7 separate regions of the Homo sapiens genome follow, and regions 2, 3, 4, 5, 6 and 7 are each linked to region 1. Evidence: promoter capture Hi-C in 16 types of primary human blood cells and fetal thymus (Javierre and others, 2016). All regions are on one chromosome and are shown on one strand. The core of a region is centred on a gene start or on the middle of the fragment in contact, and the rest is flanking DNA. Distances in the headings are between cores, read along the strand shown. Region 1 holds the start of CEP290 (centrosomal protein 290). Region 2 overlaps LTA4H (leukotriene A4 hydrolase). Region 3 holds the start of CCDC38 (coiled-coil domain containing 38). Region 4 holds the start of SNRPF (small nuclear ribonucleoprotein polypeptide F). Region 5 holds the start of FGD6 (FYVE, RhoGEF and PH domain containing 6). Region 6 overlaps MRPL42 (mitochondrial ribosomal protein L42). Region 7 holds the start of NUDT4 (nudix hydrolase 4).

Region 1 (4,368 bases), core at 1-2,500:
TTTTTAGTGGTGATGTAGATATTACCAGGTATTTTCACAAAGATTACCTTATATAAGAACAGATTTTTATAGTTCCACTAATAGCCAAACCTATAGTTAAAACCTACTACATACAAACCTTCATTAGTGACTGAGTAATTCTGAAAAGGTGTATCACATTTTCTTGCTTTTCACTTTTTAGCTCATTTACTTCCACCTAAGTAAACAGAAAAGCAACTGTTTTATATTTTATAACCTTCAAGCAAAATATAAGAACACTTCCAGATTGTGACAATTATAGTTGTCCCTGAAAAAAATAAATTCATATTTTATTAATAAATTAATCATAAGTTAATGTATATATCTATTATTATTGACCAATTAAGCACCTTGGATAAGGAAATCAATAAATTATCTGCCAGTTCTTCTTGACGGGGCAGGTCATCTGGGTCAACTTTCATTATTTCTTTCCAGTTTATATTAGGTGGCATCTTGAATTCTTTCACTGTGCTCCACCTCTGTAACAAAACAGGTGTATATTAGCATTTTCAAGGTACACAGTATTATTGGTTTTCTAGCACCTTACATTTTTTGCAGATTATTTCATTATAACTTTCTGATGTTAGCAAAACAGACAATTGGGCCACAAAATAGACAAGTGGGCAAAATAGCCTTGATCAAAAATAGCAGTCGGCACAAACTGTCAGAGTGTCCCGGCTAAATAAAATGTGACGGCTTCCTTGCTAACACTAATCTAAGTTAATACTTAAGATTTCTGGATCCCTTCCTCCACACCCCTACCCACAATGCGCGCGAACACCCTAATCCTGGCAAGCGCGAGGGTCTGTGGAAGGCCGACAATCATCCCTGATTTGGAGAAACAGAATTGGGGCTGAAAAAAAACGCAGAAATTAACATTTGGAATGAGTGAAGTTGTGCGGCGGAAACTGGAACCGAAGCAAGGCAGTATTAGGGACCCGAGGCTGGAAGGGCGGGGTAGCTATGCTGTGGCACACGGGCCCTCAGGCTAAAGAACCTGAGCGTGGAGTGACTCGCTAATCCTGCTTACAAGGATCCACCCACCTAGACCAAGCCTGGCAACCAGCGGAGGCCTCTCACTACCGCAACCACCAAGCTGGACCCGGCCGCGGGCCCTGACAGATCCCTATCGCGGTTCCACGCGGACTCTGGGTCCAGCCAAATGGTCCCGAGCAAGCCAAAGCGGCAGCGGCTGCTAGGCGACACCATCCCCAACTCCGCCAAGGCCAGAATAAGATCCCGGATGCCAGGAGAGCCTACAGTTCACGACCGTGGGTGATGCTTTACGTTTAGATTCTCCGCCGGAGTCCCAGAGCTCGGTGTTCAGGATGATGAGAAGGCGTGGAACGAGGACTTCAAATCCCAGAGTGCAGTTCTGCCTGAGGCTTCTGCATGCTGGGAACTGAAGTCCCTGAGAAGAGGAGGTAAGGCGCTCCCGGCATGCAACGCGTAAGACTGCGACGGTACCGGGGCGGCGGGGAAGGACCGAGAGGCGGGAGGAGCAGCGGCTCAGGCGCCTGCAAACTGGTGGCCTGAACGAGGTAGACCATGACTGTGGTTTCAGTGGCGTCACTCGCTGGGCTGCTCTTCCTGAGGTTTTCCTAAGCCATCCCCTGGCGGAACCGCCCCCAGGTGAGGTCGAGCTGTCGGTCAGCATATTGGGAGGAATTGAGGGGAGCAGTCCTGGGTTAGAGAAGCTTCTGCTATTGGGGCCGTAGGGCCTGGTCCCATTCTGAAAAAGTGGGAACACCCTGCCTTCTCTTCAGGCGTTTGCAAGCGGCGTCCAGGGTAGTGCCTTCTGTAAGAAGGAAAAAACAAAAAGTTTTAGCCTTGTTTAGTATCAGAATCTGTCTTGATAGTTAGAGTGAGAGCCGCGCAGCCGTGATCCTCGTTTGGGGGCGAGCGAAGAATTGACAAGAGGTCTCGGCATCCCGACCCCGCCCGCCTTACCTGTAGCACCATTCCTTTCGCGGATCGTGGGGCTTGATGGTTGTGGAGCTAGTATAAAGTCAAGGCTCTAGAGAGGAGAGGTTAGTACTTGTCCGGACCACTGCCGGGGGTGGAGAGAGAAGGGATCCAAGGACTCACCTGTACTATTGTTGCCACTTGCTTGGTTACCTAGGGTGCCCTTCCATGAAAGCGCCTTCTCTGGTGTTTACCACTCTTACTCGTGCAAGTTTTGCTCATCCTGCTCGTCTGCTCACAATCATGCTGGAGTATGATACATCTCTACCTAACTTTCCTAAGAAGCTGTAGACTTAAATCTAAATGACATTTCCAACTATCTGGACCAGTGCTTTGTCTTTTTTTTTTTTTAAACGCTGCTTTAAAAAAAAAATTACTGTACTTGACAGTAAATTTTCCTTTCGAAAATAAGTAATGAGTTTCTTTTTAAACCCCCAATTTGGGTAAAATAAGTAGCTCAGTACAAAATAAAAAGATACTGATTTTGTGAGATGAATTTTAAAGACATTAGTTAGATTTATAGGAATGACAATTTTACTACTTTTCTGAAAGATTATATGCCAAATACTATTCATTATCTTGTTTATTCTTCCTTACAATCCAGTGAAATAGGTGCTTACATTGTCCTCATTTTCCATCTGAGTTAAGAAACTGAGGCTTGGAGAAGCTAAGTAACTTAAATAGTGTGATTGAACACAGATCTCTCTGGCTGGAGGACATATTCTTAACTTCTATACACCTCCTCAGACATTCTGGGAAACCAATATTTGTGAAGTGCTTGTTCCTCAATCTTGCTATTTTTATTAAATGTTATATTTTAATTTTGTAAGTGTTTACTCAATAATTTGAATTAAACATTCTTCATGTTCAGTGTTCTTAATTCATAATTTAACATGGGATGGTGTTTCTGGAAAGGTGTTCTGATCTGGACCCCAGGAGAGGGCTCCTGGATCTCGCCAAGAAAGAATTGGAGGTGCATACACCCCCATTGGAGGTGGTAGACTAAGGATTGTTATAGTTATTTCTTGATTATATGCTAAACAAGGGGTGGGTTATTCATGAGTTTTCTGGGAAGAGGGTAGGCCATTCCTAGATCTGAGTGTTCCTCCCCTTTTTAGACTATATAGAGTAACTTCTTCACATTGCCATGGCATCTGTAAACTGTCATAGCACTGGTGGGAGTGTCTTTTAGGATGCTAATGCATTATAATTAGTGTATAATGAGCAGTGAGAACGAGCAGACGTCCCACCTTTCTCGCCATCTTGGATTTGGTGGGATTTGGCTGGCTTCTTTACTGCATGCTGTTTTATCAGCAAAGTCTTTATGATCAGTATCTTGTGCCCACCTCCTATCTCATCCTGTGACTTAGAATGACTGACAGACATCCTGAGAATGCAGCCCAGTAGGTCTCACCCTTATTTTACCCAGCCCCTATTCAAGATGGAGTTGTTGTGATTCAAATACCTCTGACAATGGTAGGAATGAAATTTAATAGTTACTGAGCACATGTTATGTCATACACTATGCTGACTACTGCGTGTTTGTTTTCATAATAGAAGTCTGTTTTCTCTAACACCTTTTCTTCTGTTTTTTTTTTCATTCGTTATAACTTATTTTTATGTATTCACTTACAAGTTTCGTTTGTCTGTATTACTCTTTTCTACCCTTCTGCCACCACCCTCTTGCTCACATTCATAAACTCAAGGTGCCTGGTCTCTAATGGTAAATTTTATTCTAATTTTTCAGAAGTGAGAACAAGTTCATAGAAGTTAAGTAATAATTGATGAAGCTAAGATTGTAACCTAGATCTCAGTGACAATTGTAACTAAAAGCAAAATCTTACCTAAATTTTATTCTTTAACTCATTCTAACAGTATTTTTTATCCTGTTTCCTGTGCTAGGCACTGGGGATACAGCAGTGAACAAGTCAGCTCTGGCTTGAACAAGTCAACTAAGTTTTTATGCATTGTCGTCTGTACCTAAGTGTGAGTCAGGAAATTTAACTCAGGTTCTAGTTCAATAACTCACTGTATATTTTTGAGGAAAATTGGCAAAACTATTATTTTTCGTCAGATTTTCTGCACCTGTCAGTTTTCATCAAGAAATGGGACTTATGTGACAATGTTGTAAGTGGCCTTGTTATAAGAACACTTGTCTGGACCTGCCTTCTTTCTGCCCTAGGCTTTTGTGAACAGTTTTATCTGACCAAAATCACTTCACAAGAAGGCCTCACCTTTTATTATTGCTTACCTTTGTTCTCTGTAGCAATGAATTTATATTCCTTGGATGTTACTTCTAGTTCCTTTTTGCTGACTTACCAAGAAAAGTCATAGTAGCTTACTTCTCCGATCTCTAAAACAAAGCATGGCCATTTTGTATCCATT
Region 2 (4,368 bases), core at 1,209-3,708, 7.9 Mb after region 1:
ATGTTCGTTAAGCAAATCAGCAAACTGTATATCACTGTGGTTGTATATCTAGAAAAAGCCCAACCTGGTATGGTAACTCAGACCAAATGATTCTGCAGAGGATTGGGAGGCCATATCTACTTGCCATGGCCAATTAAGGACAACTGCTTTGGGCATGAAGGAGTGACATCAAGTGTCAGAGTATTTTCTATCCCCAAAATCCTGAGCCCTACAAATCATACTCTTTAATTATCTCTCAACTAATCTCTTGTCCTAGAATCTTGAACCTTCCTATGCCACAAGACTGTTTCCTAACAACATAAACAAAATTCTACTTGATGGATCTACCCACTAAATATTCTAGTTTTCCTCCTTCCTTCCTTAAACTCCAAGGGAGTTTTTGACTGCTATGACTACTACTTCTACTTCTTCATTAATCATCCTCCCTTTCCCCTTCTTCCATCTGGCTTCTTGCTATTGAAAGGGCAGCCCCCACCCCGATCAACAAAGTCTTTTCTGTCCAATAACCTTGACCTCTGTCTACTCACAGCCCTTATGGACTATGTCATCTGGTTAAAACCCCTTCCTTCACTTCTTTGCCTGTACGCATACATCATAAATGGTTCTCTATTTGTCTAATGTTTTTTTCCTTTCCCCTCCTTTATTCCAATTCAAAAATATGGATATGTCCCAATGTTCCAGCCCCGGTCCTTTGATTTTCTTGCCATATCCTTCACTCCCTAGCTCTTACTCATGCCCACATCTTCAATTAGTATCTCTGTGAAGATGCCTGCCATTCTAGTTCTACAGTTGTATTCCCTCCCCAGGACCTCAGTCGAATCGCCTGCTCAACATTTCCATGGGACATAGCACCACACATTGAATAGGCTTCTAAAAATTCCAAAAATGATTTTTATACTCCCTGAATCAGATTTCTCCCCAGATTTCTTGATTCTGTTAAAAGAACTCTTCCAGTTACCTAAGGTTTGATCCCATTTCCCAACCCCACACAGCCACTTAAAAGTTGTTCTTTCACAATGTCTTCATACTTTTCCTTTCTTTCCACTACTAACCCAGGTCAGGCCCTGGACTGGCAGAACTGCTTTCTACCAGATCTCCCTACCTCTGGCATTATTTTTTTCCTTTTCTGAAATCTGACCTGGCTACATGTGAGGCCAAGAACCAGCCATTTCCCAGCTGCCCCTGGGTACTTTCTTTTGGGGGTACCTCATTTGTTATCCTTACTCTAAATTAGTAGAAGATACGGTTTATATCTTATTTAAAATAATAGGGTTACTCCTTCATATTCTAGTACCTCTCTAGTCTCTTCATAGTCTAGTACCTAGTTCTGAATAGCTATTCAGAATAGCTAACTTGTTTTAAAAACTTGATTTGAGTATCTTGTGTTTATAACACATGCTTATATAGATGAATTAACTGGGTCATTTCCCAGTGGAACATATTCTGTTTTCTATATTGGCTAAACTTTCCAAATCTGTTCAGAATCAGAAGTGTCATAGTGACAACTATTTTTTGTGAAACGTTTTGATATCCCCTGTGTCTGTTATAGCTCTTGGCCCTACCCTTTCCTATAATACTTACTGTACTGCATTATAATGATTTCTTTTTCCATTAGACTAAGGGTTCTAAAACAGAGAATGTTACTTAGGTCTGTATTCCCAGGGTTTAGCACTCTGCCTCAAAAACACTAGGTGTCAATTAATGCATGAAGCAGGTCCTAGACCAAGAGAAAACAAAAAATGCAATGTTTAAGCTGTATTATCTCAAGTCCTAAGTCTCAACTATCATTTGCAAACTACTTTTTAAAATTCCCCTTCAAATTTCAGCGATGTTATTTTTAAAAAATAGTCAAAAACTGTAATAAGAAAGAAAAATAAAGAAAACTGGATTGTTGACAAGTTGGATTTAGTACTTTTTAAGAAACGTGTTAAGCATCAACAGCTCTACTAATTATAGGATATAATTTATATGTTTCACAGTATCCTCTTTGAACAATACCCTCCATCCCCCTAAAAAGCAGTTGTACTTCTCAGTAGCTGGTCAGTTGACATGGAATAGGTATCTGATTCCTTTTTTGCACAGGCTGGTAGGAAGCTCCATGTCAACCCTGTGGCCCACTTCTTTTAAAGTATAGAGGGCTTTATGCCATGGGTTTTGTTTCTCCTATCCCTATTCTCTCTTCCTGCAAATTATTTAATTATTTTTAATCTTATACTATATATGTTGCTTCAAGCAGTCTCAGTCCTTTCTAGAACAAAGCAGAGTTTTTTTAAAAAAAGCTTTATGCCTCATTATGATGTCTAAATTTACATTTTCTACTTGCTATGTGCAGGGATATGATGAAAAAAAATAGGTTTATGTGTGAAACACAAAGCTAAAACTAAAAAACCACCTTGATTTGATTCCCAGTTGAGACATTTACTTAGTGAAAACAAGATGGTTTGCAGTCAGAATTACCTATTGTTAACTGCTGGCTTCTGCCTTGGCCATGGCACTAAAACCTCTTGAGCCACTAACCAAAAGAACACCTAAACATTTCTGAAGGTTTCAGTGAAAAGAAACAAATGTATGAAAGTTATCATAAATTTGGAGGATCAAACTTCAGTGTAAATAACCCAAAACTTGAAAAGAATTTTAGAAAGCTTAGAATTTGTCCGATTAAGTCTCCTTCAGCATTCCTCAACATCACAAACTCTAAGAACGGAGAGGAAAAGAAGACATGACGTCTCTCCTGATTCCGCACTGGCACTGGGTCTTCCCATCTCACCTCTGAAATACAGCTGGCACTATTATCAATGTAGCCCATGTTAAGCTTAGGCACTGTTTTCTAATTGAAATCATCCATTAATCAAACTTTTGAATGTCCTCTACATGCCAGACATAGACTATACTAGGAAGCTGAGATACAAAGAGTTATGAAACACAGTCTCTACATTCAAGAGTCCACAATCTAGTGGAGGAAAGAAACAAGTTAACTTTAAATAAATACTAATTAACTAATTAATAAGGATAAGCTCCTGGTCTAAGGCTTTTGTCATAAATAAGCAAACAATTATAAACATGTTATTTTGTACCATAAATTGCCTTCCTTGTATAACATGTAACATTATTATAATTCCAGGCTCTAATTTGCTAAACAGACATGCCAACCAGAAATCACTATTTTAAAATCTTACTTTTCTCTAGATTTGGGGAATGTAAAAACAATGAGCAGATTTTTAGATTGGGACATTCTTTTCAAAATTTAAACATCCTGACTCTTGCTTACTTATAGAACAGAGATAAAGTTTTTATTCTACAAAAGTGATGAGAACACATGGATACACAGTGGGGAACACACACTGGGGCTTACTGGAGGGTGGAGGGTAGGAGAAGGGAAAGGATCAGGAAAAGTAACTAATGGGTACTAGGCTTAATACCTGGGTGACAAAATAATCTGTACAACAAACCCTCATGACACAAGTTTACCTATGTAACAAACCTGCACATTTGAAGTACACCTGAACTTCAAATAATAAATTTTTTAAGTTTTTATTTTACAAAACAAAGGTAAGTGTGAGGTCACATTAAGCAGCAAAAAGCTATAAAAATTTTCATTCTTTTACTTTTATCAGCATAGTTTATAATTTAATTTTTTTAAATAAAGGTGAAGAACAAGAACTTTCCAGTTAACTAAGAGCTTTGAGTGGGTTTGGGGCTTAGTCAAGGTTTTATTATATCTTAAACCAATTGGAATATTTCTTCTGAAATATATGTTGCAGCTAAAGATTCAAGGAAGAATTTGCTGTTCATATATTAGAAAAACCTCTTTAAATTTCTTCCACTAGCGACCTCGGTTTTGGTTTGCAATTATTCACATCTGAACACAAGTGTCCTGAATTGCTTAATTTTTAAATCTCTAGTACTTTTGAATGTAGGACGTATAAACTCATGTTCAAATATGGCAGTCTCACAGTGTGGTTTTTCTTTTTTTATTATTATACTTTAAGTTCTGGGGTACATGTGCAGAACGTGCAGGTTTGTTACATAAGTATACACATGCCATGGTGGTTTGCTGCACCCATCAACCCGTCAGCTACATTAGGTATTTCTCCTAATGCTATCCCTCCCCTAGGCCCCTACCCCCAACAGGCCCTGGTGTGTGATGTTCCCCTCCCTGTGTCCATGTGTTCTCATTGTTCAACTCTCACTTATGAGTGAGAACATGCGGTGTTTAGTTTTGAAACTGCATTGAAATAGGACTTCAGCCCTGCCCAGGCAAAGTTGCTACTGCAATTAAAGATAGCATGGTACTTCAAGAAGACCAAAGTGCGATCTGCAAGGAAATAGATGCCTTCCTGCTTATAATATCTTAATTTTCTTTCTTAT
Region 3 (4,368 bases), core at 1,375-3,874, 7.8 Mb after region 1:
AGTATGAATAATAACACCTTCCTTACAGGCCTGGTGCAATTTTCAAACACAGATAATATATGCAAAGTGCCTGCTCATAGTAGGCTTGTGAAGAAGTGATCCCTTATACTTTTTTCAAACTAGATATTGTCCAGATCCTTCCTCTTTCTGGCCCACTCTGTCAACTGCCGCCATTTGAAATGGGAGCATAACTGACAACTACTTTTTGTAAGAAACTCCCAATCAAAGTTCTTGAAACCTGGTCATTGGAGAGGAGTCTACCAGCAATATCAGTGCAAATCTGGGGGACCTGAATCAGCTTCATGTAGAGTCTTAACATTCTGAGCTCCAGGGGAAGTGGGGAAAGAGGAGTGGGATTTGATAAGGCCCAGTCCTAAGTTTCTAAACCAACTCTAAATAAAATGAATAATAACACTGTCTACCAGATATTATTCGAATCAGTTTATTTGTTTTTTTGCAACAACCCCCTCTAAAACCCAATGAAAACGAATTTCCAGATGATCTCAATGTGAGATAAAAAGCAATGTTTATCTTCACATGCATATGAGGATTTAGACTGGTTCTCTCAGACCCAATGCCCTTCCATTTTTTTTTCCCACCTCCTCTCCGCCTACCTTGGACAAATACTAGGAAAAGGGGCTGTGAACTGTGTCCTTGGATGGTGTGGGGAGATCACAGTTAGCAATTTTTTGTTTACCTAAAAGCCAGGAGCCACTGGGTCCTTGGCCTGCTTAGATGCACGCTGCCGCTTCTGACTAGGTCAGAGCACAGCACAATGATGAGGAAATTACTTTCACCTTGACCTTTAAGGCACTGCTGGCGTCAGGCTATTTAGTATGGACGCTTCTGTTGACATTTCTGACTGCCCCTTTTGCGAAGTGAAAAAAAACAAACAAACAAACAAAAAAAAAAACTGGAGGTCAAGAGGAAGGAAGGATGGGTTAAGGAGTCAGCATATACAAGTCAGATAATGTGAAAAGTATTTTATAAGAGCTGCTATCGGGATGTTGGTTATTACCAAGGAAAAATGTGTCATCCTTATCCATCTATAACTACTGAACAGTAACTAAGGAAAGAAATTCACTCATCCTTTCTGCTTTTGCAAACCTCCTGTTTGCAGGAGCTTATCAGGTAATGTTGTCTGTCTGGACTGTGAATCAGATGCACAGTTCACCCACAAACATAAATACCTATGAAAAAGAAATATAATTTCTTTTAGACTCACCCAGAACTTGCAAGCTTTAAGTACATGGTCTGTGAAGTCAGGAGAGGAACTATACTATTGGCTGAAATCTAATCTTTAACTTAATTGGCCAGGAAGACAAATAGCAGGATTAAAACACACGAATAATAGTAATAATACCTATTACTTGTTTAGAGCTGGGCACTGGGCTAAGTGATTTATGTTTTATTTTATTTAAAACTCAGACAAGCCCATAAAGTAGAAACAGCTCTCCCTATGATGAGGATGAGAAAACGAGGCTTCGAGAAATTACTGTAAAGAAATTCCCCAAGGTCAAACAGCTTATAGGAAACAGAACTCAGACTAAGACAAGTTTATTGAACCCTATTTTTCTATAATTTTAACCCATCCTTTATACATACAATTGCATAGTTCTGCAAATATGCCTAAAATTGCAAAATGTAACTGATTAAAGTCTTCAGCAGAAATTTTATAATAGAAAATTTTAATATTTCTCTGTGAATTAGTGACTTTATGTGTTTCTATTCCCCACTATTTCTACTTCTCTTTTTAAAGACATAGAAATATATGTATGTATAAACTTTTTAAAAGCTATGCACACACACACACAAACAACCTGTTTGTGATTGTGTATATGAGCTGTGAATAATCTTCTGATGCCCCCTCCCCCCCACCCTTAGGGTCTCTTTCACTCACATTGTCTATATATTTTCCAATTTTTATCTTTCTCTTTCCTAACTGATCTCTCTTTTATAGGCCATAATATGAAGCTAAATTATATTCTTATTTATCGTGGTCATCTAAAGGAGTGTTTGCTTTCTGTTCCAGGTTTTTTTAATGAGACTAAATTAACTTTTATATTTTGTGGGTTTGCAGGCTTAGTCTGCTTTTATAGTATATTATTTGTGTCCACATCTATCACTTTTATTGTAAAGTCTTTACTGGGCAGGGAAAGCGCCTTTCCTATCTTTGTATGTTCCACAAGACTTAACACAGAGCTTGTGATAAACATGAATAAACGAAATCAAGTAATTAAGGACTCAAAAGCCTGGGCCTGGCAGTGTTTCCATAGCAATTGGTAGCAGGAAGCGACGAGGCTGAGAATCACAGACCATCTTCCATAAACTTGATTCTGTCTCCAATTTTGGTCGCAAGTTGCTTGTAGGCCCACCAGACACAGCTGAGGGGTGGGAGGGGGCATGCGGAGGGGCGGACACTGAGCTGAAACCTATTTTACCTCAGCGAGTTTGGATCCAGGAGCCTTTCCAACCTATCGTTCGGGAAGGCGTTGTGGGAAAAGTGGGCGGAGGTGCCAATCGATCCTCCAGTCTCGGCTCTATCCTCCCCCAGCCCGGTTCCCGGTCATCTCAGGGACCGTCTGGTAGCTGATCCCGGAACGCAGCTGGCCAACGGATAAGTGCGGGGCACCCGCCACCCGCGCGGACCCAGGAGCACCTCCCCTACCGCATCCCCCTCCTCCCCACCCCCAGGTTCCCTCGGCTCGCGGCCCTCCGCGTCCCGGGCTCCCGCCCCAGAACCTGTGGGCAGATGTTTCCTCCACGCAGTACCCTCCCGGGGCTCTGCCTCCAGGCTCGCGTCCCAGCACCCTAGGCAGAGGTTTCCCCCACTCTGTCCTCTCCCGGGGCTCTACCTCCAAGCTCCCGTCCCTGCCCCTGGGCACAGCTTTCCCCTACTCTGCCCTCTCCAGGAGCGCTATCTCCAGGCTCCCACCCCAACCCCCCGGGCAGAGGTTTCCCCCATGGCCCCCCTTCCGGGGCTCTACCCCAGGTTCCGGTCCCTCACTCCCGAACACTCCGGGTGCCCTCACCCAGCCAACCCTTGACGCGCTTCCACATACCACGTGATCCACACAGCTCACTTTGATCTCTCGGGGTGACCAAGCTTAAGTTTCCTTATCTGAAAAGTAGGGACACTAGTCTCCATCTCGTTTACTCGGGATGGGACAAGACGACCAAAAAAGAGAGGATTCCTCATCAGGTTTATTACTCGTTGCCATTCTTGCAATGATTACCGCCCCCGTTGCTGTGGTTGGGGGAGGCGAGCAAAGGGCAGCGGCTGCGAGCGCCCGCCCCCGCCCCACCCTCCCAGCCCCGGACAGCGCAGGCTGCGGCTTTTCGTCCTCCACTGAGTCCTGCCGGTGGCCCGAGCCCGGTGGCCTCCCGGCGACCCTCGGCGCGAGGCGACATGGCAAGCGGCCACAGCCTCCTGCTGGAGAACGCGCAGCAAGTGGTGCTGGTGTGCGCCCGCGGCGAGCGCTTCCTGGCGCGGGATGCGCTGCGCAGCCTGGCGGTGCTGGAAGGCGCCAGCCTGGTGGTGGGCAAGTAAGTGGCCGGGCGCGCAGGGTGGGGACCGCCACGGGCGGAGCTGGCCGCTCTTCCTCTCACTGTGCACTCTGGAGGGAAACAACGCCGTGAAAGCGTCCCTGCACAGAGATACACGGGCAAGCCAGCCTTTGGGGTACCTGTTGCTAACACGCTCTGCTGCTTGGGGTTGTCATTCCGTCCAAAGAGCTCAGAGAGGAACACCCCATTGGAACGCATCAGGGTCCTGCCTCTGCTGGTAAAATATCACTGTCCAACCATCAGAAGGGGTTGAGGTCCTCCCCAGTGCTTCTTAAAGGGAGGCCAGAAGACCACCTTTGTCAGGGTGGCCTGTGGTTATTTTATTCTTACGGCAGATTTCTGATTCCACCTGCGTCCCCCACTCCCTATCCCTAGAATTTTAGAATCAGCATCACTGGGGCTGGAGTTCTGAGACCTGAATTTTTCAAAAGTACCTTTCACATCCTCGTGATCTCGTACACTAAAGCTTTAGAACCACGGAGAACATTTAGACGATAATGGCCCTGAGTGATAATAAATCAAGATTTGACCATCAGAAAACAAGATATTTCTCTTACTCATCTGAGCTTCCTGCCAGATATGAATAAAAGAACAAAGTTTGAGGGCGACCTGGGGTAGCAAGGGAAGTTGGATGAGAATTTGAATCCAAAGCGTGCCATGGGACCACAATTGCACACGATCAATGAGTCTCACAAACTGACCACGGCTTATCTGAGGCAGTTTAGGGTTGTGCAAGAGCCCAGCTTTTAAGGGACTGTGGGTTGGTTTAATTTTATTTATTTATTTATTTATTTATTTATT
Region 4 (4,368 bases), core at 890-3,389, 7.7 Mb after region 1:
CCAAGAGTTTGAGACCAGCCTGGACAACACAGCGAGACCCTATCTCTACAAAAAAAATTAAAAAATTAGCTGGGTGTGGTGGCACATGCCTGTGGTCCCAGCTACTCGGGAGGCTGAAGTGGGAGGATCTCTTGAGCCCAAGAGGTCAAGGCTGCAGTAAGCCAAGATCTCACCTCTACAATCCAGCCTGGGTGACAGAATGAGACCCTGTCTCAAATTAAAAAAAAAATTTAACATGAAAAGAAAAACCAACCTTAAATACACTATCTTTACAGAATGTGTTTACTGTAGTATTTCGTTTCACTTCACTGAGAAAACAGCTAAAGAGTCAGGCTTCTAAAACACATATTGAGTCTTTGAAAGGTAGCTTCATGAAGTAGAAAAAGCAGAGTTTTGAAACCCAGGTATGTGGTCCTGAGCAAGCTATGAGGCAGAAGAATAGCGGCTGGAAGCAGGGAACCTAGGGCCCATCCATGCTGACTGGGTATCAGAGGCTACTCCCATTTCAACCCCTCCTTTTTCTGCGTGGCAGTTGAAAAATGAAAGTACCTCTTATTGGTCCCCTCCCGCAACCAATCAGACTGGTTGTGGGCCAATGGGCAACCTCTAGAGGGTATTTAAAGCCCAGAAAATTCTATAACCAATGCTCTTGAGCCGCTTGCACCAGGCGGTGCCCACCCTGTAGAGTGTACTTTCATTTAAAATAAATCTCTGCTTTCGCTGCCCTGCTTTGTTTGTGCGTTTTGTCCAATTCTTTGTTGAAAACGCCAAGAACTCGGACAGCTACCCTCAACTGGTAACAGTTACCTGCTGGGCCTACTTCCTCATCTCTTAAACGGGGCTGTCACCCCGAATCAGACAGTAAGGTAAGATTTCCACGATTGTTGAAAAAGCCTGACACATAGTAGGAACTCAAAGTCTATACAAAGACTTAAAGTTCATAAAACAATAGACAAACGGAGAAATCCACTGAAGTTTAGGGTGAATAAATCTAATAACTGTTTGGTAAAAACTACACTGACAATCATTGTCTGGTCAGTGTTCAACATTTACGTGAAACACTGAGCTTTTACAAGGCCAAGCCCCGTTTTACGTTAAATTCTCGCAACCACCCTGAGGATGGTTCCGTTTTTAAAGCCGCGTTCCTGCCGAGGAAACAATGGCCCTCGGGGTTAAGACACTGCCCAACACCGGCCGCGCCTGATAGACGCAGGTTCCGAATGCAGGCCCCCTCCAAAGTCTTGCCCACTGCTCCACAATGCCTCAACACCCAACATTTCATCCTCAACTCCAAATCCATCTCTTCAGGGCCGCAAAAAAGCGTTACTTCCCAAAGGGCGTGTTCTCCAAGAACTGCATTTAGCATTTCAGATCAGAGTGACCCGAACTCAATAGGATTACGACAAAAACTAGTGAGATTCAGATAACACCGTTACATCGAAAGTTTTAATCCGTGACAGAGGAAATATTGCTTACGCCCTTAGGTAATTTCAAATGCACGTATGAAGGCCGTGCGGGTTTCTGCAGGCGAAGCAAAAGAAAGGTGGGGCCGGCAGGGTCGTGGGGCGGGGGTGGGGCATGACACCGTATCCCAGACGCAACTCGACCTCGTTTGCAAGAAATTCTGTATCCAACTCTCTTCAGTGCGTTTCGCCGCCCCTAGTCTAGTCTGGCTAGCCCCCAATTCCTTTAAAAGGGGTTAAAACGGGTGTTGCAGAAGAGAGAACACTCAGGTAGAAAGGGCCTGCGGCAGAGGCGCCCCCAAATCATGGAACCTGTTGGAAGAGTGAGGAAGGAACTCTGGGACCCCGAACATTCTCACGGGTGTAAAAAGACAAAGTAAATCCCCATTAGCCAAGTTGGGGAGAAGTCACATCCGTTACACAGCCTCTCCCAGACCGCCCTCTAGGAAGGACACCACATTTAAAAACACCGGCCTGCCTCCAGTCCTTGGCTGCCTCACAGCGATGCTCAGAGCCGGTTTCCCAAGGTCCGCGCGCCGCCTGCAAGGCGCAAACCCAAGCCGCTGCTGGTTGCTAGGAGATACTGGGCCAGCCATCTCCTCCAATCAGCACGCACCTCTTTGCGTCCAATCACAGAGGCAGGAAGGGCCGTGGTGGGAGGTGAAAGGTCATAGTCCTGTTTGGCGGCCATTTCTCTTGAAACTGCGGCTCGGGACCTGCGGTACCTGCTGTAGTCACGAGGGACGGGCGGCGGCCTGGTCGGCAGAGAGTAGCCTGCAACATTCGGCCGTGGTTACGATGGTAAGGAGAAAGAGAACGGCGGGAGAAGCGGGGAGAAAGAGAAGGAGGGAGACCAGCCTCGCGGGGCCTGCTGGTTCCTTCGCGCGTTTCCCATTCATCCGCGTGAGGCGCCGCGCACCCTGTCGCCAGCTCCTTTCACTCTGCTTTTAGGTTTCTGAGGCGCGTGCTCCTCCCGATGCCTTTCTTTTCCTAGGAGTGCCCGTGCCTTCTTCTCTTTGTTTGAATCCGGGCCTGGGGTATTCTTAGTTGGGGCTATAGGGTCGGGGTAAAAGTCAAAGAGAATTTGCACTTCCCACTTAACCACACTCCAGAATTCACTTTCATTCCGTGAAAGTAATGATACGGCCATGCTCTAGATTAACTCACTTGGGTGGGGAAGACAGACATTAGTCAAAAAATAACAAGTATGTAATTGCAAATAATAAGTGCTAAGAACAATGCAGACAGGAGGCTGTGAGGGTGCGCGTTAGACATTAGAGGCTTAGTCAGAGATGGCCTCCCTAGGAGGTGGAATTTAACTCGAAGCCTAAGTGTCATGAAATACGACCCTTTAAAGAGCAGGAGGAGGAGTGTACCGAGCACAGGGAATAGGAGCATAAGACCTGCGGCCGGAAAGAAAGCTTGGTCATTTGGAGAAATTGACAGAAAGGTATAGCCACTTGCGCGAATAGTGGTTAAGAGATGGTATCGGAGGAGCAGGCGTTGGGCAGGACCTCTTAGGCTGTATTGGGAGGTTTTGATTGTACTCCAAATCAATTTAAAATGATTCGGTTGGAAGCCATTGGATCATTTTAAGCAGAAATATGACAATCTGATGTGCACTTTAAAAAATCATAGTTACTGTGGTGGATAACAAATTGGAGAATGAAAACTGGAGACCCATTAGGTTATTGGAGTAATCGCCATATCAAGATCACTCCGAATATGCTCATGTTAGAGGGGGTTAGTAGCCAAGTTTCTTAGTTCTCTTCTTTGTTTGACTGGTGAGTGAGCAGAAGAGGGCAAAAACCGAAATCACTGGAGATGTTAATGGTTTGCTGAATAAATAGACATTAAGTAATTGCTGTAAGTAAGAGGCGGTGCTACTGACAAAGTCAGATAGGACCTAGCCCTAGCTTCCCCAGTTAAATACTGTCAAGCGTGATCTGCCCTCTGCTTCCTTCTGTAGTTTTATATTTGGGGCTTTGACTGACAATGCTGAATTGTATGTCCCCAAAACCACCTTGTTGCATCACTCTTCCCTCCTTTTACATAAGTAGCTAGCCTTGCCTGGAACAGCATTTTTTCCCGCTCTGGAAATAAACTCTTATCCTTTAAAACTGAGGTATTACTTATTTCAGGCAACCTTTCCTTTTTCCCCTGGATTGCTTTGGTACCCTTGTGCCTAGTATATCTCCTTTTACTACAGTGCAGCATGCAATATAATTATTTGTATGTGAGGAGTTCCCCTCCCCATCTCCAACTTCTTGACAGGGACTCATTTATTTATTTATTTATAAGAGACAAGGTCTTGCTCTGTTGCCCAGGCTGGAGTGCAGTGGCCTAATCATAGCTCACTGCAGCCTCGAGCTCCTGGGTTCAAGCAGTCCTCCCACCTCATCCTCCCTAGTAGCTGGGACTACAGGTGTGCACCACCACACCTGACTATTTTTGGTAGAGATGGGGGTCTCACTATGTTGCCTGGGCTGGTCTTGAACTCGTGACCTCAAGTGATCCCCCGGCCTTGGCCTTCCAGATTACTGGAATTACAGATACGAGCCACCCTACCTGGCCCGCTTTTTTTTTTTTTTTTTTTTAGTGCCTTTATCTTTGTTTCTTTAGAGCTCAGAACAGTGAGTGATGTAGGTAGTCAGTGTATCTTAAGTGAATAGTCAGTGTTTTGTTTTGATGGGTTAAAGGTGAAATTGGCTAACTGGATATTTAAATTTCCCTGGTACTCTCAACAAATAAAAGTGAAAATTATGTACTAAAATAATAAGGAGTCAAAAGTTTTCTTCATTTGCATACCACAAAATATTGGTGATTCGGTAGAAGAGAGTTGGTGGTGGGAGGAAAAATAATTAATTAGATCCTTTTTTGTTCTTTGTGCAGAGTTTACCCCTCA
Region 5 (4,368 bases), core at 635-3,134, 7.1 Mb after region 1:
AGTCACAGACATAACTCAGGGAGCTGGCTAACCTAATTGTGGGCCTTGTACAGACCTGGCTGCCTCACTTTCCTTCCTTATAAATGGGGGAGTTGAACAGGCCTCTAAAGCCCATAGGAATCTGAGATGATAACTTCTGAGACACTCATTTCAGAAGAACCTCATGTACTGTGGCCTCTGTCTCCTGCGTTGATGTTTTTTCAGTTCACCTTTGTCTGTGTTCAGCATAAGACACAAGCTCCAGAAGGGCAGGCACTTTGTCTCATTCACTGATGTATCCCAGTGCTAACAACAGGGCCTGGGAATAATCACAGCTGCCACATACACATACTCTTTAATATGTCTCCATAACAGAAAATTTCTTCTTTAAAAATAATCACATTCAAAAATGTACATCCATTTTAATGTAGAATAATATTTTGAAAAGTTAGCAGGAATCAATTTCAATACGATTATTGAAAAATTCCTTAATTATTAATAGGAACAAGTGTTCAACTAAGTCACTGGTAGAGCAATATCCAAAATCCTTCATTATTTTTTTTTCATGGCTCTATTTTGGAAGAAACACAACTCAAAAAATAATAAGCCATTATATTATGGTCTACTCCAATGTGAAATAAGTGCATGACATTTGGCAATAAATCTAGCACCTTTGGATCTTAATACTGCATCAACAGTCAGACCCAAAGCTTCTTAGAGCAAAGCAGCAAATCTTTTATTTACACAGCTGTTTGGCTCCAGGGAAATATAAGGTAAGAAAGTAAAGCACTAGTACCATTTTACTAACTATTACAAACATACTCGTCATCTGTTACACACAGATGGCTGTGGTTCACGTGTACACTCTCTGGCTACTGGACCAGCCAAAACGCAAAGCACAGACAATGAAGACAGTGACCTGTACATGTTCAAAAGGACACAAAATATATACCTATATATACCTATAATTCTCTCTCCTTTTTTCTTTTTTTTTTTTTTTTTTTGAGATGGAGTCTTGCTCTGTCACCCAGGCTAGAGTGCAGTGGCTCGATCTCGGCTCACCACAACCTCCGCCTCGCTGGCTCAAGCAATTTTCATATCAGCCTCCCGAATAGCTGGGACTACAGGCGCACCCCACCACACCTGGCTAATTTTTGTATTTTTAGTAGAGACAGGGTTTTGCCATGTTGGCCAGGCTGGTCTCAAACTCCTGACCTCAAGTGATCCACCCGCCTTGGCCTCCCAAAGTGATGGAATTACAGGCTTGAGCCACTGCGCCCAGCCTCTCCTTTTTCATATACAGCTTAAAATAATTCTGAAATCTCCACTAAGGGCAGATTATTTTATAGATGTAGAAAAACAAAGCAAGCTTTTCTGCTGGATACATATAACCTAGATGTTCTACAACATTCCTTTTATTTTCTTAAATTAAACCAACCCTTCCAAATACCACAGATTAGATTCAAAAGCAAAAATCCCCTCCCTTAACTTCAAGTAACTTTCCTAAACGTTTCAATGAATTTGACTATTGTTCCCAAAAAGCACCATAATCAGCTTGTAAGAACTATGTATACATATAAGAATGGGTAGAAATAAAACCCCAGTTCTCTTCCATATTCCCCATCTAGACACCAGAAAGAATTATGATAAATCCAACAGATGGGTGAGCAAAAAAGTAGTTGATGCTTCTCAGCCAGCAATGCTAAAAACCAACCAACTCGGCTAGACACAGGAAGTGTCCCACTTTAAACACCACAAAAATTTCTGTGGATTTCTTTAATTGTAAAGTTGATAAAATACAAAAATAGCTTGCATTATTTTAGGATAATTCAAATGCAAGAATCATGAACTTCCAGTCTGGGCCCTAGAAATTGGGTTTACATAAATGTGAAATTACATGCTTCTGTGCCTGTTCCTTATAAACTGTTAAGACTGGAATTGAAAACTGATACATATAAGACACGGTTATTTTAAATACATTTGACACCTCCAAAAAGGAAAGAGCTAAAACTGGCTGGAAGGATTTTAAAATTTCCAACCACTTTTAATTTAAATCAATTTCTTGAACGAAGGTAAGGCACAGAAATGTAGGATGAAAATAATTTACCTTATGTAAGTATAAAGCCTCCCTTTGGCAAAGAAAAGAGAGTTTATAAAGATATCTCATATAAGTGCATATAACATCAAAAAGGAAAGACCCACACAACACCCACTTCTTGCTTTCTTTTCCTATTGGCTAACTTCTTGTTTCGTTTGTTGTAATCTGATCACAGGGAGCAATGCAACACTACAATATATCTAGGCTTTAGAAATAATACAAATCAGAACATTTGAGTGCTGTTGGACAGTTTCAAGTTGCAAGAATTTTAAACAAATGCCAAGAAAAGCAATGAAAATTTAATCTGATACTTAAGTGCTGATTCTGGAAGTAACCTTGAGAAGAAGCTTTAAACTATTTCACTATAAAATTTCTAATGAAAGTTTCAACGTGGACAAAAACGTAAAATAACCCATAACACTCTACTTAATACATAAGTTCTGGTTTAAAAATTAACCTATGTACTTACGAAGTGAACGTAACACCACTTTGGTAATTATTTTGTAAAACAGAAATTGTTCCTTAAGAATGTTCAGAAACACAACGTCTAGAATTGCTGAAAATCCACACAAAGATAGAGGCTTTGTCATTTGGATGAAGGGGAAAGAACTATGGGAGGCAGACAGAAAATAAAGCTTTGTTTACCCTAATCAGGTAGAAACAAACAAAATAATTGTAATTGGGTGCAGACAAGCAAAAAAAAAAAAAAAAAAAAAACCTCAACAATCTCAACTCCTCTGCTTCTCAGGTAACAGAGGTAAAACCACCAGGACATGACAATGTCTACGCCTCTTTAAAATGGGTAAAAGGTTTACCAGCAGATACAAGGTTGAAAGCGACTCACTTAGTGGCCAAATTGAACACGCTGAGAACACTGCCTTTACCTATAATAACTGATCTATTAACTTGGGAATCTACACTATTTTCACATGCAAAGGCGAAGTCCTCGCACTGCTGGAGAGATGAGCGAACGCCCTTCACACATCGCATTTCACCTGGTGCAGAGCCCCCAGCACAGTCCCCCTTGGAAGGGAGATCCCGAGAAATCCCGGGTTTCCAAACAGCCCCTCTGGGCAGGAAAAGACGAGAAAGCCGGCAGCGAATCCCATTAGCTCCGCGCTTGCCGAGGTGCTCGGCAAAGGTACGGGGCACACAACTCGCCCACCCCGGCGAAGAAAGTTGCTCGCGAGCCCAAGCCTAGCAGCGCTCGCCACAAACTTTCCCGCGGCAGCGCGAGCGCCGTCACTTACCGGCTGCAGAAGTCATGATTCCCCGGTGCAGCTCGCTTCCCCGCTCGGCCCCTCAATCCATCTTCCCCTTTCAGTCCATTGTTCCCACAGTTCGGGTAGGAGAGAAAAGCCCCCGCAGCGCCCACATTCCGTCCCGCCGCCCCGCGGCGCAGCCTGAGCGCCACACAAAGGACGCGGCCGACTCTAGCGACCCTGCGGCGCTCCCGGGCGCGAGCCGCCGGGGTCGGGCGGGCGAGCACTAGCACCGCCCCGCAGAGCGGCAGGCTGACAGCCAGGCGCGGGCACGAGCAGTGCTCTCTTCGGCTCCGCTGGCGCGTGCCCTTCTCGGGCTCCAAAAATCAGCAGTGCTCCGGGCGCCCCCTGCTAGTCGCGGCCGTAAAAGGCAGACAAAAGCCCTAGCCTCCTCCAATCGGAGGGCTCGAGCTTCAGCTCGCTCCCGCCTCTCTCGCTTACACGCTCACTCTCTTCTCCAATAAGCGGGCTCGAAAAGGGGGCGTGAGCGGCGAGGCATATTGGGAATTGTAGTTTTCTGGACCCACGGGACGGGCAGGAGCTGGAGCTCCGTGCCGCCTGTACTCCCGCCTTCATTTCCCATCGTGCTGAGGCGGGTGGCATGGCGGAGAAGGATGACACCGGAGTTTGACGAAGAGGTGGTTTTTGAGGTAAGAGGAAAATGGCGGTGGGTGTGGATTGCCTTTGTTTGAGAAGGACGAGACGGAAATCGAGGAAGCAAGGCGTTCCCGGGGCGAGGGATCGGGTGACGCGCTCCAGCTGGCCTCGACCACCGAACCCCAGCGATTTCAGGGCCTAGAGTCCGTCGTCGCCTGACAGGTGTAGCCAGAGGCGCCCTGGCCGTGGCCGGCCTCTATCTCGGGCCCGCCCAGAATTCCCAGACGGTGCCCGGTTGCCAGGCTCTGGGCTGGAGCGGTGTCTCTTCCTTCCTGGGAATGGATGTGCGGCGGGGGGGACTGCGCCCGGCTGGGGCGGGGCCGAATCGTGCCTTTTAGATAGTCACAACTTAGCCTCCTCCTTTTCCATCCG
Region 6 (4,368 bases), core at 1,239-3,738, 5.3 Mb after region 1:
CTATTTTATTTTATTTTATTTTTTGAGACTGGATCTTGCTCCCAGGCTGGAGTGCAGAGGCATGATCTTGGCACACTGCAACTTCTGCCTCCCAGGTTCAAGTGATTCTCCTGCCTCAGCCTCCCGAGTAGCTGGGATTATAGGCACCTACCACCAGGCCTGGTTAATATTTGTATTTTTAGTAGAGGTAAAGTTTCACCATGTTGGCCAGGCTGGTCTCGAACTCCCAACCTTAAATGATCCTCCTGCCTTGGCCTCCCGAAGTGCTGAGATTACAGGTGTGAGCCATTGCGCCTGGCCTAATTTTTGTATTTTTAGCAGGGGAGGGGTTTCACCATGTTGGCCAAAACTGGTCTCAAACTCCTGACCTCAAGTGATCTGCCCACCTCAGCCTCCGAGAGTGCTGGGATTATAGGCATGAGCCACCGCACCTGGCCACCAAATCCTGCTCTTATAGGAAGCTTTCCATCCCTGCTTCCTTGCTTGCCCCACTCTCCCATTTTTTAGGGCCCTAAACATAGAAACATTTATTACATTATATTCAAAGTAAAATCAACTTAGAATTCAGTAAATAGAACAGGACATTGCTTAAGAGACTTTGGATATAAACCAAAATAAGTCACAACAAAACTGCAATCAGCTTTTGATTATCTAGGAGCATTTTTGTTGTTGAGAATTGGGAGAAAGACCCTTACTCTTACTTCTTAGATTCCTCTTTGCCTTGCAGGAACCCAGCTCCTAGGCTAATGAGAAGTCACATCCAATCAGTTTTTACATAGACTATGTTTTGAAACAATTAGTCCTCACACAGGCCCATCAGAAAACCAGTTAATGTGTCCCTGAATAATTGAAAATTATTTATATATCTTTTTCCCCACTGGATTTCCCACTAAGTTTGTACTGGATCTAATTCATTTTGGTGTCCCTGGGGCCTCTCATTCATGATAGGAGATCTATCAGTGTTTGTTCAAGTAATCTGAATGGTTTAGAGTTAACTCTCAAAATATCTAGTTAACTAAGAATTAGGTTACCCTAGAAAATCATTCCATTATCAGTTATCCTAATACTCAGTGACCTAACTTCTTATATCCGAAAAGTCCCTTATACTGCAAAGTTCCTGTTGCTACTATTATTGAAAGTAAAGGGCTGGGCAGGGTGGCTCACACCTGTAATACCAGCACTTTGGCAGGCTGAAGCAGGCTCTGAAGTTTGAGACCAGGCTGGGCAACATAGGAAACCTCATTTCTACAAAAGTTACAAAAATTAGCTGGGCGAGGTGGTACACGCCTGTGGTCCCAGGAGGGAGCCAGCTTACTCAGGAGGCTGAGGTAGGAAGATTGCTTGAGCCCAGGAGTTCGAGGCTGTGATTGTGCCATTGTACTCCAGCCTGGGAGACAGAGTGAGACCCTGTCTCAAAAATAAAAAATTAAAATTAAAGAAAGTTTCATTACTGTTATTATTGATGTTTAATAAAAAAGGGAAGGACAGTAAGATTGGAGGCAAAGCGAAATCATGATTAAGGAAGAAAGTTCAGTGAGCAAAAATAAAAAGCCTTCCTTATATTCTAGAAGGAATATTTTAAAATTTCCCAAATGGTCAGTCAGCCCGGGAGTGTAGAACACTTCACAGTTTTCAAAGCATGTTAAGCCATTTGATCCTTATAACAGCTTTGATTTTGGTAGCCCATGTAGTATTATCCTCTTTATGAAGGTAAAGAAACTTGAGTTCTGTGGCCCTCATAAGTTCACCCAGGGTCACATATTTGGTAAACAAAAACTGTGACCAAAATCTGGATCTCCCACCTTACTTTGTCCTGTATACTTTCTACTGTACTTCCTTTTCTGTAGCAAGGTAAAATACTGAGCATTTGAAGATGGGACAACTTTTAGCTTTCATAGCTCTTTCAAAATGCAATTAAATATATATATGTAACAAGAATAACTCATAAATTACAGAAATTATTGTTAATTGAAATTCTTTTGGCACATTGAGCTTAATTGCTGTTAACTTTGGCATTGGTCCTAATTATATATTTAGAGCTTCTGCTACTTCTATATCCAGAATTACTTCCATTGGTAAAATATCAGGTAATGAATGTTTCCTTATTTTTTTTTCAAGGTGAAGTCTCACTCTGTTGCCCAGGCTGGAGTGCAGTGGTGCAGTCTTGGCCCACTGCAGCTTCGACCTCCCTGGGCTCAGGTGATCCTGCTATCTCAGTCTCCCAAGTAAGCAAGACTACAGATGTGTACTACCATGTCTGGTTATTTATTTATTTATTTATTTTTGAGATGGAGTTTCACTCTTGTTGCCCAGGCTGGAGTGCAATGGCATGATCTTGGCCCACTGCAACCTCCGCCTCCCAGATTCAAGTGATTTTCCTGCCTCAGCCTCCCAAGTAGCTGGGATTATAGGCATGTACCACCATGCCCGGCTAATTTTGTATTTTTAGTAGAGATGGGGTTCCACCATGTTGATCAGGCTGGTCTCGATCTCCTGACCTCAGGTGATCTACCCACCTCAGCCTCCCAAAGTGCTGGGATTACAGACGTGAGCCACTACGCTTGGCCTATGTTTTGTATTTCTTTGTAGAGATGGAGTTTTGCCATGTTGCCCAGGCTGGTCTTGAACTCCTGGGTTCAAGTGATCCACCTGCCTCAGCCTCCCAAAGTTCTGGTATTACAGGCGTGAGCCACCATGCCCAGTCCTTATGAATTTTTCAAACATCAGTTATGCAGAAACATTTGAGAGGCAGTTCGGCAATCACTTTTTAATGTGTAGGCACTATAGGGGACACAGTAATGAACAAGGTACAGTTCCTGGCCTTAAGGAACTTATTTAGACTTGTAGGTGAAACAGACATCTAGCAACACTAAGAATGCCCAGAATATGAGGCAGAATGTGATAAGTGTGTCATGAGGGCACAAACAAATGTCTGTGTAAACACAGAGTAGAAATTTTACTGAGTTTCTTGTTAACTAAAATACTGTTGTCTTGAGTTTTCTTGTCTGCATATTTCAGAACACTTAATTCTGTCACCCAGTCATGTTTCTTTCAGTGAAAATGTATATCATCTAGTTGGTTTATATTCAGAGATACAAAATTGTTTTTTTTTAATTTATATTTTTTATTATTAATTTTTTTTTAATAGAGATGGGGTCTCACTATATGACCCAACTATGTTGCCCAGGCTGGTCTTGAACTGCTGGATCAAGCGATCCTGCTGCCTTGGCCTCGCAAAGCGCTGAGATTACAGGAGTGAGCCACCACACCCCACCAGTTTTAATTTTTTTAGAAACGATTTTGCTCTGTTGCCCAGGCTAGAATTCAGTGGCACAATCATAGTTCATTGCAGCCTCACCCTCCTAGGTTCAAGTGATCCTTCAGCTTCAGCCACCTGAGTAGCTGGGATTATAGGTGCATGCCACCATGCCCAGTTAATTTTTAAAAATAGTTTTTAAAGATAATATCTCACTGTGTTGCCCAGGCTGGTCTCAAACTCCTGGCCTTGAGCAGTGTTGGCCTCCCAAAGTGTTGAGATTACAGGCGTGAGCTACCATGCCTAGCTTTATAAACTTCTTTTAATATTAACCCAATCCATGCATAATTAGGAAGGTCCCAGTGATGTCAAACAAGAAAATAAAATATGGCCAGGTGCAGTGGCTCACACTGGTAATCCCAGCACTTTGGGAGGCCAAGGCGGGCTGGGCTGATCACCCAAGGTCAGGAGTTCAGGACCAGCCTGGCCAATATAGTGAAACCCTGTCTCTACCAAAAATACAAAAATTAGCCGGACATGGTGGGCGCCTGTAATCTCAGCTACTCGAGGGACTGAGGTAGGAGAATTGCTTGAACATGGGAGGCGGAGGTTGCAATGAGCTGAGATAGACAACTCTTTCTTCTGTGAAGAACCTTGGGGGCAGGGAGAGTAAAAAGGATTTCATGGAAGAAGAGTGTTTGACCTTTTTTTTTTTGAGATGAAGTCTCACTCTCGCCCAGGCTGGAGTGCAATGGCACGATCTTGTCTCACGGCAACTTCTGCCTCCCGGGTTCAAGTGATTCTCCTGTCTTAGCCTCCCGAGTAGCTGGGATTACAGGCATGCACCACCACACCCGGCTAATTTTTTGTATTTTTAATAGAGAGGGGGTTTCACCATGTTGGCCAGGCTGGTCTTGAACTCCTGACCTCAAGTGATCCACCTGCCCTGGCCTCCCAAAGTGCTGGGATTACAGGCATGAGCCACTGCGCCTGGCGAATATTTGACTTTTAAGGATGAGGGGTATTTGAACAAAATGGGGCTGGAATTCCATACTGAGGACATGGTAAAGGCATGGAGATAGGGAAGGCAGGATAGGTTACAGTTCTATATC
Region 7 (4,368 bases), core at 516-3,015, 5.2 Mb after region 1:
CCAGGATTAATAACTTTATTGATGTGAACCAATTATCCAAAAATAATAATCACATATTAGCCATAGCGGACTCCCCAGCTAGATGTTTTCTGCCTGTGTTTGTAAATCCTGGACATAGTTAAATTTCAAGTGCCTTCAATAAGAAATCAATGGCTTGGAAAACATCTCTGCGCAGTCTTGATAAGATTTCTAATTGTGGTGAAGCCTCATTCCTTAAATTATTTATTCAACACTAACCCATTCTACAAACTTACATCTGCTGGGCTCTGGGAGTAACAAGATGAGTTAGATGCAGCAGTCCCAAATCTAAAGGAGGTTGGAGACTAGAAAGACCAGTGCCTGCTCTGAGCTCTCCAGTGGTCCCCAGCCTCTCAGTCAGGCCTCACAGGCCCCTCTGCCAGAGGCGGAACCAGCTTGCCTCCGCTCTGCAGCCACACTGGCCTTTTCTTTCATTTCTGAGAACTCTCCTCACTCCCTCCCACTTTGGGCTCTGCAGAAATCCCAGTTCCCTTTGCCTTGAAAGCTCTTGGTCAATTTAGCTCCTCCTCCTTCAGCCCTCAGCTCCTGCCTTGCTGCCCCAATAATCTTTTTCTGACTGCAGATCTGGTCAAATCTTTGTCTGAAACCTTAGAGCCCATTACATTTGTAGTTTTACGTGTACACGTGTGATCATTTAATATTTGACGGTGTGCTCTCAGGTGCCTACGCTCCTGGAGAGGCAGGGGCTGACTGGTTTTGTTAGATGCCAGTGCCTGACACACAATAGGCCCTCAAGGGGTGAAAAACCAACCAACCAAGTCAGGACCCAAGCAACCTGGGCCTCTGTGGAAGGGCAGAATGGCCTGAGTTTGGGTTTCTCGAGCTACCTTAAGATCAGGCCTCCTGGCTCCTATCTTAGCCCTTCTAACACTCTGAAGTGTAGAGGTTGTTTGTTCCAAGTCCCCAAGGTACTGTAAGCTCCCAGATAGCAGAAATCCCATTATATTTTAGTGCTGTGGCCCCAGCATCCAGCTGCGCTGTTACTTAGCATGAGATCCACATGAAAACCATTTCGCAACTATTAGCCATTGCCAGTATTAATACTTTCCGGAAGGTGGCACAAAGTGGGGGATGTTATAGACAGCTTCAAAGAAACGTTTAAGCTAGAGTTGACTCTTTAAATAATACAAGCCATCCCCAACCAAAGATTAAAAATTTAAATACAAAAAAAAAAAAAGGAAATTTGCCTACCCCCCATTTGTGAAAACAAAGAAAAAAAAAACAGTTAACGTCTTAACTTTTCTAGGCCTTCACTCTCGCCTCTCCCCGCGCTACAAGGGCGAATTCTGGACGTATCTACACAGTCACCGCGGAGTCTGCAATCGCCGCGACGTCCCCTGGCATTTCTTGGCCAGGCTGCAACTTTGGTGACGGTGTATGTAGTTACATCCCCTGTAGTGCAGCTGGTATTTAGGGTCCTCATTGGCAAAGTTGAGGGTATAAGCAGGGAGGGAGGGGACCTTGGCTTCTTTCCATTCACTGGCATGTTTTCGGGGCACGGTCATCCCACGCTGGGCTCCAGCGCCAGTCCCAAGGCCTCGCCGAACTCCAGCCCGGGAGTGCGCGCGGCCCCGCCCACCGGGCGGCCGAGGTCCCGCCCCTACCTCCCCCGCCACACCTACCCACCCACCCCATTGCAATGGTCTCTGCACGCAGGCGCAGTGGCGCGCGGGGGAGGCGGGGCGCATGTGGGCTTCATTTAAACAGAGCAGAGGGGGCGGCGCGCGGTCGCCGCGGTGCTGCTGCTCAGTGGGAGCGGGTCTTCGCAACTGTCTCCGCGTGGCGCGCGCCTCTAGCCGCCCTTCCCCTGGCGGCTACGGCCGGAGGGAGCGGAGGCGAGCGGGAGTCGGGCTCCATGGAGAGCGGCGGACAACTGGGCAGAGGCGGAGCTTTCATCTCGGCACCCTGGTTCCAGTGACCCGCGCTAGCGTCCCGTCCCGCCCGCGTCGGAGCGGCCGCCGGCCCCGGGACTGACCGGCCTCGCCGCACCTCCCGCACCGACTAGCGCTCCCGGGCGCTCCTGCGCCCGACTCGCCCTCGCCCCCACTCCCCGGCGGGGTGGCGGCGGCCGGGCCCCCACGGCGGCGGCCGGAGCAGCAGCAGCAGCAGCAGGAGCCCGCCTCTATGATGAAGTTCAAGCCCAACCAGACGCGGACCTACGACCGCGAGGGCTTCAAGAAGCGGGCGGCGTGCCTGTGCTTCCGGAGCGAGCAGGAGGACGAGGTAGGGCGCCCGGCGCCGCACGCTGCCCTCCGGGGCGCCGGGGTCTAGGGCCCGGGTGCTTCCCCTCGCTCCCCGCCCCTGCGCAGGCTGCGGGGCTGGGAGGGATTAGCCCCCTTCCTCCCTCCCTCCTTTCCTCCCTCACTCCTTTCCTCCCTCACTTCTTCCTTCCTTTCTCTGGGCTGATAGATGAGACAAAGGGGGCTCGCCCAGCCCCAGTTTCTCCATCTGGGCACTCGAGAAGGCGCCTGGTCCCCGGGAAGGTCCCGGGCCGCGTAAGTCTCGCCTAGCGGGAGTCACCATCTTAACGTGCGAATTGAGTTGAAAGCCGGATAAACCTCGAGTGCTCAGCGAGAGGAGGGTGGAAATGGCGTGAGTGTTGCAGCAGAGCCCTTGTGCCTCTTTTACATATTTTCCTTCCATGTTACAGCCGTTTGCGGTCTCGGATTCGATCTAAGCATGTTTGTGGAGTAACAGACAGTCCTCGTGCTTGGAATTGAGTCTAGTCTTGGCAATTCTTGTGGGTCCATGAACCCGCAAGCTGTTGGCATAATTATGCCTCATTTTTAAAACGGCCTTCCCTTCTTAAAGTTTTCTGACTGCAGAAAAATGGTTAGTGAAAAATGTGGAATAATGCCAAAAGGGAGACGATGGACTAGAGATGGGCAAAGCTGCCATTTTCAGACAGTAATCTCCAGCTCTCAGCTTATGTATAAAGGGTTCTTTGCTGTCTGGCTTGACATCTGGAAAGGAGTAGCCTTTCTCGTTCTCAGAGCAGTCGTTCTTGGATAATTTACCCATCTGCATTGGGCTGAGAATGAGACCCTTGGGGTTTCCCTGGAGAGCGATTTTTACTTAATTCAGTAGTATTTATTTAAAATGGCTAACTGTTGAAGTTTGCTTAGGGCAATAGTAGCCTTTTGGTATTGCCACTCTTAAGATAAATTACATAGGTGAAAAAAATTAACATTCTGAGTTCTGCTTTCATAACCAACCGTGTATAAAATACTAGGCTAAGGCTGGAGATGGGAATTTAATGGCTTCCTTACTGCTAGTCCCTGTAGTTGTGATGAATATGACACAGAATACACTCAGTGGCTTAGTTCTTGTTATGTTAACGAAAAGTTCTCGAAATTTGCCCTTCAAACCCTTGTTTTGCCTTTATTTTTTTTTGAAAAGAAACCAAGCCCTTTAAATGGGTTGCTCTGTGCTCACTCATAACCTTTACGTATTAGACTTGAATCCCAAACGAGTGTGCAGAGAAATACGGCCCCAGCCTTTGAGATGGGTCTGCTTAGGAGAGCTAGAAACTGCAAAGGGAAAGGTTATTAACTTTTACAAAATGAACAAGTCAACAAGCATTAAGTGTGTTCTGTAAAAAAGATAAAGCCTTAGCGGAAAGGGGCCATGTTGAGGCAAAGTAGTAAACTTTAAATATAAAAGAAATGATAGCCAAAAGGGATCAAGATAGATCAAGGATCTTGTCTGGTTTCCTCAATATTGTGTAATGATATTCTTAATTGAGTGCTTACAATGTGCCAGGCGCTGCCAGAAGAAAACTTGTTATACATTTAATCCTTTTAACACTGGGAGGTAGTGAAGTTACTCCCATTTTATAGGTGAGGAGACAGTTGCAGAGCATAAGTACCTTCCCAAATGACACAATTAGGAAGTGGTAGAGTCAGGATTCAGGGTCCAGTCCTTACTCCTGATGTTGGGCTCTGTTTGTTGAGTGAGTGAGATTTTTGTGAGGCTAAGTTTGGAAGCCTATCTGAAAGTGGTGACTGAAGTGTTGCCATAATGTGAACTTGGAATTCAGGCTTTGTAAAAATACTAGACTCTAGGGGAAAATATGAGTGATGGAAATTGAAATGATGATCTCTATTGTGCTTATGGTAAAGCAAAGACTGATAGAAGCTTTAGGAATTACTTTAGCAATAAAAATAAATGATTATTTTTATGCTTGGATATTATTTCTACTGAAATAAATACTAAATTCATAGCCTCTAGTTGAGTCAAGAGACCCGTGTCATTAGGTAAGGTGAAGTAGGGAGCAAGTTTTGGAGAATGTATTAGAAAAATCCATTGTATAAAACTTTGTAAATCTGA

The links. The method cuts DNA at HindIII sites, captures the fragments that hold promoters and counts their contacts. A CHiCAGO score of 5 or more calls a contact.
Region 2: a fragment that was not itself captured here is called in contact with the fragment with the promoter of CEP290 in region 1 in 1 of 17 cell types (total CD4 T cells); the score reaches 5.2 in total CD4 T cells.
Region 3: the fragment with the promoter of CCDC38 here is called in contact with the fragment with the promoter of CEP290 in region 1 in 4 of 17 cell types (non-activated CD4 T cells, naive CD8 T cells, fetal thymus and 1 more); the score reaches 10.3 in non-activated CD4 T cells.
Region 4: a contact is called between the fragment with the promoter of SNRPF here and the fragment with the promoter of CEP290 in region 1, in 6 of 17 cell types (non-activated CD4 T cells, total CD4 T cells, naive CD4 T cells and 3 more). The highest score is 15.8, in non-activated CD4 T cells.
Region 5: a fragment that was not itself captured here is called in contact with the fragment with the promoter of CEP290 in region 1 in 1 of 17 cell types (non-activated CD4 T cells); the score reaches 5.0 in non-activated CD4 T cells.
Region 6: a fragment that was not itself captured here is called in contact with the fragment with the promoter of CEP290 in region 1 in 1 of 17 cell types (non-activated CD4 T cells); the score reaches 5.2 in non-activated CD4 T cells.
Region 7: the fragment with the promoter of NUDT4 here is called in contact with the fragment with the promoter of CEP290 in region 1 in 2 of 17 cell types (non-activated CD4 T cells and naive CD8 T cells); the score reaches 6.7 in non-activated CD4 T cells.

The regions. Positions count from the first base shown.
Region 1 is chr12:88,140,838-88,145,205 of GRCh38, forward strand. It overlaps CEP290 (centrosomal protein 290), which reads right to left and starts at 1,251. Exons shown (of 54, transcript NM_025114.4): 1 at 1,063-1,251; 2 at 369-497; 3 at 119-196. The coding sequence starts at 470. TMTC3 (transmembrane O-mannosyltransferase targeting cadherins 3) reads left to right here and starts at 1,470. Exons shown (of 14, transcript NM_181783.4): 1 at 1,470-1,650. RefSeq lists enhancers at 1,091-1,530, 1,337-1,840. The HindIII fragment of the contact is 8,380 bases long and covers 1-1,713 here.
Region 2 is chr12:96,029,596-96,033,963 of GRCh38, forward strand. The region is part of intron 1 of LTA4H (leukotriene A4 hydrolase); the gene reads right to left. Among named protein-coding and RNA genes, the nearest start is that of LTA4H, 3.8 kb to the right of the region's middle. RefSeq lists an enhancer at 3,287-3,456. The HindIII fragment of the contact is 363 bases long and covers 2,278-2,640 here.
Region 3 is chr12:95,939,990-95,944,357 of GRCh38, forward strand. CCDC38 (coiled-coil domain containing 38) reads right to left here and starts at 2,625. Exons shown (of 16, transcript NM_182496.3): 1 at 2,442-2,625. AMDHD1 (amidohydrolase domain containing 1) reads left to right here and starts at 3,342. Exons shown (of 9, transcript NM_152435.3): 1 at 3,342-3,546. The coding sequence starts at 3,410. The HindIII fragment of the contact is 1,867 bases long and covers 1,238-3,104 here.
Region 4 is chr12:95,856,813-95,861,180 of GRCh38, forward strand. It overlaps SNRPF (small nuclear ribonucleoprotein polypeptide F), which reads left to right and starts at 2,140. Exons shown (of 4, transcript NM_003095.5): 1 at 2,140-2,264; 2 at 4,356-4,368. The coding sequence starts at 2,262. It overlaps SNRPF-DT (SNRPF divergent transcript), which reads right to left and starts at 2,027. Exons shown (of 3, transcript NR_135014.1): 1 at 1,942-2,027. RefSeq lists enhancers at 1,849-2,464, 1,863-1,922, 1,973-2,032, 2,153-2,382, 2,413-2,462. The HindIII fragment of the contact is 4,587 bases long and covers 1-2,882 here.
Region 5 is chr12:95,213,898-95,218,265 of GRCh38, forward strand. FGD6 (FYVE, RhoGEF and PH domain containing 6) reads right to left here and starts at 3,570. Exons shown (of 21, transcript NM_018351.4): 1 at 3,328-3,570. The coding sequence starts at 3,343. It overlaps VEZT (vezatin, adherens junctions transmembrane protein), which reads left to right and starts at 3,910. Exons shown (of 12, transcript NM_017599.4): 1 at 3,910-3,989. The coding sequence starts at 3,954. RefSeq lists enhancers at 73-152, 3,234-3,828, 3,829-4,368, 3,889-4,128 and a silencer at 3,429-3,658. The HindIII fragment of the contact is 1,076 bases long and covers 1,347-2,422 here.
Region 6 is chr12:93,471,164-93,475,531 of GRCh38, forward strand. All of the region lies in intron 2 of MRPL42 (mitochondrial ribosomal protein L42), which reads left to right. Among named protein-coding and RNA genes, the nearest start is that of MRPL42, 5.8 kb to the left of the region's middle. The HindIII fragment of the contact is 4,058 bases long and covers 460-4,368 here.
Region 7 is chr12:93,376,160-93,380,527 of GRCh38, forward strand. NUDT4 (nudix hydrolase 4) reads left to right here and starts at 1,766. Exons shown (of 5, transcript NM_019094.6): 1 at 1,766-2,262. The coding sequence starts at 2,164. It overlaps LOC643339 (a long non-coding RNA gene), which reads right to left and starts at 1,577. Exons shown (of 5, transcript NR_040096.1): 1 at 1,278-1,577. RefSeq lists an enhancer at 1,362-2,301 and silencers at 1,538-1,877, 2,098-2,397. The HindIII fragment of the contact is 6,665 bases long and covers 1-4,174 here.